Regions from separate parts of the Homo sapiens genome. Here region 2 is linked to region 1. Evidence: promoter capture Hi-C in human tissues and cell types (Jung and others, 2019). All regions are on one chromosome and are shown on one strand. The core of a region is centred on a gene start or on the middle of the fragment in contact, and the rest is flanking DNA. Distances in the headings are between cores, read along the strand shown.

Region 1 (3,478 bases), core at 461-2,960:
GATTTTGCTTTAAAATACTCCCACAAAACAAGGGAAGGGAGGTGATAGATGAAACAAGATTAGCATAGAGCTGATGATTGCTGAAGTCGGGTGATGAGTACATAGAATTCATGGCAATGTTCTCTCTACATTTATTGGTATTTGAAAATTTCCATACTAAGAAGCTAAAAGAACAGAACGAAAACAAAAACAGACACACACACATATGTAAGCAAGATACCAAGGCTGCCAGTTTGAAGCCACTGAAGAAAACAAGAAATTTACCCTGAGAATGCATAATTAATAAGAGCTCAGAGTAACTGACAATTTTCAGGTAAATTTCCTTTCTTCTTATTAATAAATATTCACTGGTGCTAGATCAGAAGCCAATAATTAAGTAAAAGTCAAAAGGAAAATAGAATTCCATCAACTACGTTCTAATTATAAAGAAAAATCCCTTCAGGGATGGTATCTGACTCAGTGAAGCGTGCCTGTGATTTTGGTGGACGAGAACTAGAACTGAACGGTGCTTCAAAACGTATTTTTCTTTCAAAGGTCTCAAAAGCTGTATGACAAATCCGTGAAGAAACAGCATATAAGGTACCTCGACTCCGGCGGCAGCTAAAACCCATCTCACGGACTCCATCCGGCCTCTTCCGTTGGGATAGTGGAGCTTGGGCCTTGCTGCCATGATAGCTTTTCAGGCTTTCTGAAATACAAATGCAGCAGCTCGTCGCAGACCAACAGTCCCAATTTCGCGTCTTCAACCCAGTGCTCAGGGGCGAAATGAATATTCAGGATTTTGGCACGGGAAACTGTTCTTTATTTTTGTTGCTGCATTTTCCCTCACTCAAGAAAAAAAAACCACCATTTTAAAACATGGAGAAAAAAACCTTGGCTTTTATATGATTTCTATTTATGACTTCTTATCCTGGATCTTGGGAAGCTGGGGCCATTTGTTGTAAAAACATATGTGCTAGCAGTACGGGATTTCACAAATTCAGAATATTATATATTTTGACCTCGAGAATCTCAGATTTTCCAAATTCAGCTGGGGGATAGGGGGTGGCAGGCGTTGAAGAGGGTAGCGAAGGAAAATCGCACAGCCACTGGAAGCTCTTCAAGTATTCATGCTTTTACATACATCATCATATTTTATTATCACGGCAACTGGAAGGTGAACAGGCCGAGTACTACTACTGTCTGCAAAATGTGCGTCCACCGTCACGCATGCGGTGGCTGCGCCCCCCGGGTCCCGCGTGTCCACCACCCCTACAGGGAGATGAGCCCCCGGCCTTGTAAAACGAGCCGGGGGCCAGGGCTTGGCCATCTGAGATCGCACTCTCCCATGCTCGTCTTCCCCGCTCAGCCCATGCAGGGGCGTAGCGGCAGCCCAGCCAGGCCCGGGGACGATCCGAGCCCACCTTCCACCAATGCATTCAGACTCCGCAGAAGGGGTTTAAAAAAAAATACGCACACTGAGCCAAGAAGGACCCCAGCTCCAGCCAAGGGGCCCACCTCTGCCCAGACTGGATGGAGCAGGAGGACAAAGGACAAGAGGAAGAAAAGACAAGAGAAGGACTGAACTGGGGGAGTGAGGGAAGAATGCGAGAGTGAGACTCAGAGAGTAAAGGGGAGGGAAAAAAAAGAAGAGAGAAAGGGCGAGGAAGGGGGCGACCGCAGGAGGGAGACAGACCTGGAGTCCACTCGGAGGCCTGGAGCCGCACAAAGCGCCAGGTCAGCGGTCCCGGCTGGGTGAGACCAGCAGGCGGCTCTAGCGCGCGGGAGCTGGGCGAGGCTCCGGGACGACCTCACCAATGGAGACTGCAGTATTTAGCATGCCCCACCCATCTGCAAGGCATTCTGGATAGTGTCAAAACAGCCGGAAATCAAGTCCGTTTATCTCAAACTTTAGCATTTTGGGAATAAATGATATTTGCTATGCTGGTTAAATTAGATTTTAGTTAAATTTCCTGCTGAAGCTCTAGTACGATAAGCAACTTGACCTAAGTGTAAAGTTGAGACTTCCTTCAGGTTTATATAGCTTGTGCGCCGCTTGGGTACCTCGGATGTGAGGGCGATCTGGCTGCGACATCTGTCACCCCATTGATCGCCAGGGTTGATTCGGCTGATCTGGCTGGCTAGGCGGGTGTCCCCTTCCTCCCTCACCGCTCCATGTGCGTCCCTCCCGAAGCTGCGCGCTCGGTCGAAGAGGACGACCATCCCCGATAGAGGAGGACCGGTCTTCGGTCAAGGGTATACGAGTAGCTGCGCTCCCCTGCTAGAACCTCCAAACAAGCTCTCAAGGTCCATTTGTAGGAGAACGTAGGGTAGTCAAGCTTCCAAGACTCCAGACACATCCAAATGAGGCGCTGCATGTGGCAGTCTGCCTTTCTTTTGACCCATTACCCATCTAAGTTAGATGCTTTTTTAAATGTTTTTTAATTTTTAAATTTTTAATTTTTTTCATTATTTATTTTTTATTTTTGAGACGGATCTCGGCTCACTGTAACCTCCACCTCCCGGGTTCAAGCGATTCTCCTGACTCAGCCTCCCGAGTAGCTGGGATTACAGGCGCGCGCCACCATGCCCGGCTAATTTTTCTATTTTTAGTAAAGACGGGGTTTCGCCATGTTGACCAGGGTGGTCTTGAACTCCTGACGTCAGGTGATCCTCCTGCCTCGTGCTGGGATTGCAGGCGTGAGCCACCGCTCCCGGCCCTTAGATGCTTTTTAATCAGCAAGTACGCAATGCTTTCCTGACAGGAATGTCAAGTCCGTCAGGAAATCCACATAAGGGTGTTAAGCAGGCAAAGTACCACATACAGATTAAAATCAAAAGCACTGTCAACGCTTATTTAATTTATACAGTAGACCCTAACTTTTCTAATTTTGTGTATACATATATATACATGTATACATGTATACAAACATACATATTTTCTTCTTTCTTTCTTCATCTCAGTGGGACATCTTGAGATTTCTCTTCATTTTGTACATTTTAGAGACAAGTGCTCTATAGTCACGGTCTCAAGTCAGCACCTGTTTGGAAGGGGGTCTTTGGAGTTGGGGGTGGTGCTAAAAGAATAATTTGGCTGGCAAGTTAGTTAAAACATTAAAAATATATTAAAACTATCAGGGCTATATTATGGAACAATTGCAAAATTCACATGGATTTCAAAGTTTGAAATATATGCCTTCGAAAATAAATTTTGTTTTTAGAGGCAGCTTCTGCTATTTCTCAGGCTATAGATGTTGTTATTTTCTTCACCCACGGGGGCGCTCGAGAGTACCTTGCTTGACAAGCCTGGGTGCTGAACAATTGCAGCCGCTAACATGATCAGATTTTATTTTCAATAGGTTTCTCTGGCCAAAGTGAGGCGAATGAATTGGGGTAGTAGGGGTAGAGAAAGAAACCTCTTGTGTCTGTGTAAATTAAAGTAGCACCATGAGTTTGAAGAATATGAGTAAGAAAAGGTGAAATACTAAGGAGGTAGGTG
Region 2 (3,478 bases), core at 360-2,859, 600 kb before region 1:
TTGAACTTCTGACCTCAGGTGATCTGCCCACCTCAGCCTCCCAAAGTGCTGGGATTACAGGTGTGAGCCACCATGCGTGACCTTAGAATTTTTCATGACCTTGCACTACCAAAGGGAAATTTAAGTCCTTTCTTGTTGTTGTTTTTGAGATGAAGTCTCGCTTTGTCACCCAGGCTGGAGTGCAGTGGCACGATCTCGGCTCACTGCAACCTCCTCCTCCTGGGTTCAAGTGATTCTCCTGCCTCAGCCTCCCTAGTAGCTGGGATTACAGGCACCGGCCACCATGCCCAGCTAATTTTTGTATTTTTAGTAGAGATGGTGTTTCAGCATGTTGGTCAGGGTGGTCCCGAACTCCTGACCTCAAGCAGTCCACCCACCTCAGCCTCCCAAAGTGCTGGGATTTACAGGCGTGAGCCACTGTCCCTGGCTGGGAAATTTAAGCCCTTTTTACCCTCAGAGGACAGATCTTTGCAACCCTCTCATTCCTGAGAGGTAAGGAATCATATTCTGAGTTAGAGCCTATGGTGGTTGTATCCCTGGACTCTCAGGTTCCTTTGTGGCTATTGGGTTACACACTCCAGGGGGTGGAGTTATTAAGAAGACCCTGAGATCTCTGTGGCTGCATTTTAAAGATCTCATTTGTAAGGGAAATGATGATTCTGCCAATTTCTCTCCCCTTGTGCACCTTTTCTTTTGAAGTTAAAGTTAATATCCCTTTGGACTTGTACCTCTCTGCTTCTTAGTTCTATAAATCTCTTCCTAGTTTATTTTCTGAAAGAGTGAAGTAGAAATAATTTCCAGAAAATAACTTGTCAACATAAAGTCATGAGGGAGGCTGGTGATATGAGAAATAGAAGGAACTGTCAGAGCTCTGCAGTCATGGTCTTCTGCAGACCAATAATAAGGCAGTATCATGTTCCGTCCTTTCTCCCTCAGAACAGACAGATGCCAGTTAGTTCCCAGGTCTGAATTGTGCTCTCTTCCAATCGCTAAACTACTAAAACCCAAAGTTTTAGTCTTTAGAAATTCAGTTGAGTTGTCAGTTTATAAGAACCTGCTATGTGATGGATACGCTATTTTAAGGATATGAAGATTAGTAGGAATTGTGTGGTTATATATTATTTAACTCTGGATGCAGGAATCGTCTGATTGGTTTGGGTTCCCAAAGATGAGAGAAATAGCCTTGATTTTAGACAGCATGCAGACAGGGATACTGGGAGCATCTTTGGGGATTCCTTCTTCTATAGTCACTGGGGTTATACCCAGTGACTCACCTTGATTTCTCCCAGCCATAAAATCAGACTGGTAATTTCATCTGGTTTGCTCTCTACTTCACAAGAGGTAGTAGAAGACTATATCTAAAGAATAGAGCACTTTAATTCCCCAGAACTCCAACAAGCCCAGCACCCCCAGATTATATGTTGCTAACAGCAACAGGGCAACTTGAGAAGTTATCCCACATCCCAGGCCCATTCCTGTAGTTCGTCCACCAAGGTCAGTTGGAGAAACTTCCATCCAGAACTGAACTCTAAGGCACTCGGATCCCTCTGCTGGCTGATAGCAGAAGCACCACTTAGCTTTTTCTTTTCTTTTTGTTTTCAAATGAATTCAGGTATTCTAATTAGCATTTTCTTTCTCTCTCCCACACTCCCTCTTTCTGTGTTTCTCTTTCTGGCTGACTGTAATCCTTAATACACTTCTCTTGGTGTCTTTAATTCCTACATTGAGCTTGAGTTCATAGCCCATTCCTGGTAGAAGACCACTGTCTGATGGGTGCTGGCTAAATGAATGCCTCAATACAGGGTTACAGGGGCTGCCATAGAAATAGGTTCAAGGTATGGAGGGGACATTAGGCCCTGAACTCATGAATGATTCCTGCATCTCATATCAGTGATGGTCATAATAATGGCAAGTAGTTATGCAGACTTGGAACCAAGCACTTTGTTAAACACTTTACAGCCATTATGTCATATAGTTCTTTTTCAGCCCTGTAAGGCAGCTTCTCTGTCATTTACTCCACAGATAACAAAGCTCAGGCTGGATTCATGCAGCTTGTTGATGGTGGGGCTCAGGATGTGAGTTCAGGTCTCTCTGGCACCAATGTCATAACTGCAAACTACAATGACTTCAGATACTCCAGGCTTTCCAAGCCCATATCTTGGCAGAAGTTCTTTGACCTTGCTCTCTGCCTAGAAGTCTCTTCCGCCTTTATCTTTTCTCAGGAATTCTGATTTTTCCTTCAAGATTCAGTTCAGGGTCACTTCAAGAGGGCTATACCCCCATCCTTTCCCTGTTTTGGTTGTTTGCTGAGACCTCTGTGAACCAGTGTTTGTCTCTAATGGAGCACTTATTGCACATTTTTGTGTTGATTCCCCTACATGTCTGTCTCCCCAGTAAACTTTGATCTCTTTGAAGGCAGGAAGTGTATCTTACCAGTCTTTGTATCCCTAGTACCTAGTACCTAGCACAGAGCCCAGCTCATAGCAATAAAAATGACAGCAATATTTCACATTTACTACGCACTTACCTTGGGCTGGGCAGAGTGCTAAGCACTTCATTTTTTAGACCCTCTCATTTAACTATCACACAACCCATATAATATATAGAATTATGAAGAAACTGAGGCTGAGAGAATTCTATAACTTGCCCAAGGTCACCCCAGTAAGTGGCAAAACTGGAGCTTGACTCCAGGTCTCCCTGAACTTCTTTACATTTTATTAATTTTCATGCCCTACACTTTTTTACCTGATTAGGTATTTTTTCTCTTCCAATATTGATTGAGACGTATGAGTAGGAATTACATTTTCTTTGCTAAAATTAGTAAGCACCTTGAACAGTACTTGCTGTATGTGCTCCAGTACTTGCTGTATGTGCTTGCTGTATGTGCTCCATTTAGATAAATCAGATATTAAATTTTTCTGAAGAAAAAAGCTTGGGAAACATAATTACATAAGGTAACTAGAAATGATCAAAATCTATTTCTTTACCTAGCAACTTCAGATGAAATTTTGCAGCAGTTTCATGAAATATTTTATGAAATAATTGCTGTATTCGTCTGTCACTGAGAAATACAAGTGTAAGTTAAGCATTTCTGAAGCCTGAAATTCACCGAGTGCAGTTTTAATTACCCAAGAGAAGCAAATCTAAAACTACTTGCTTTTCAGAGCATAATTTAAAAAATGAACAACAGTCTTTGCAATGAGATTTTATGTTAAATTTAGGTCACATGTTAATTTTAACTGTTAGGATATCCTAGAATGTGCATTGTTCTTTACCAACCTAACTGACGAGTCAATTTGCCTGTCTTAAATATGAGGCTTAGTCAGTTGCTCACCTCATATTTTCAAAGTACCAGTGAAATTAGTGGATAGTTTAAGATTAGGTAGGTGCTAAAGAAATACAGTCTATCATTAGCTATATCAATATTTGTAATTCTTATACTTCAATATGATATTTCATGCTATTAAAGCCTGTTTAT

What was found. Contacts are between HindIII fragments. The study calls those that stand out against the background at their distance.
Region 2: a fragment that was not itself captured here is called in contact with the fragment with the promoter of GSTA4 in region 1 in 1 of the 25 tissues and cell types used here (lymphoblastoid cells).

The regions. Positions count from the first base shown.
Region 1 is chr6:52,993,574-52,997,051 of GRCh38, forward strand. It overlaps GSTA4 (glutathione S-transferase alpha 4), which reads right to left and starts at 1,711. Exons shown (of 7, transcript NM_001512.4): 1 at 1,676-1,711; 2 at 584-688. The coding sequence starts at 670. RN7SK (RNA component of 7SK nuclear ribonucleoprotein) reads left to right here and starts at 2,047; the gene lies at 2,047-2,378. RefSeq lists silencers at 1,632-1,863, 2,195-2,284 and an enhancer at 1,815-2,034. The HindIII fragment of the contact is 14,338 bases long and covers 1-3,478 here.
Region 2 is chr6:52,398,426-52,401,903 of GRCh38, forward strand. All of the region lies in intron 1 of PAQR8 (progestin and adipoQ receptor family member 8), which reads left to right. Among named protein-coding and RNA genes, the nearest start is that of EFHC1, 20 kb to the right of the region's middle. RefSeq lists an enhancer at 64-123. The HindIII fragment of the contact is 6,274 bases long and covers 1-3,478 here.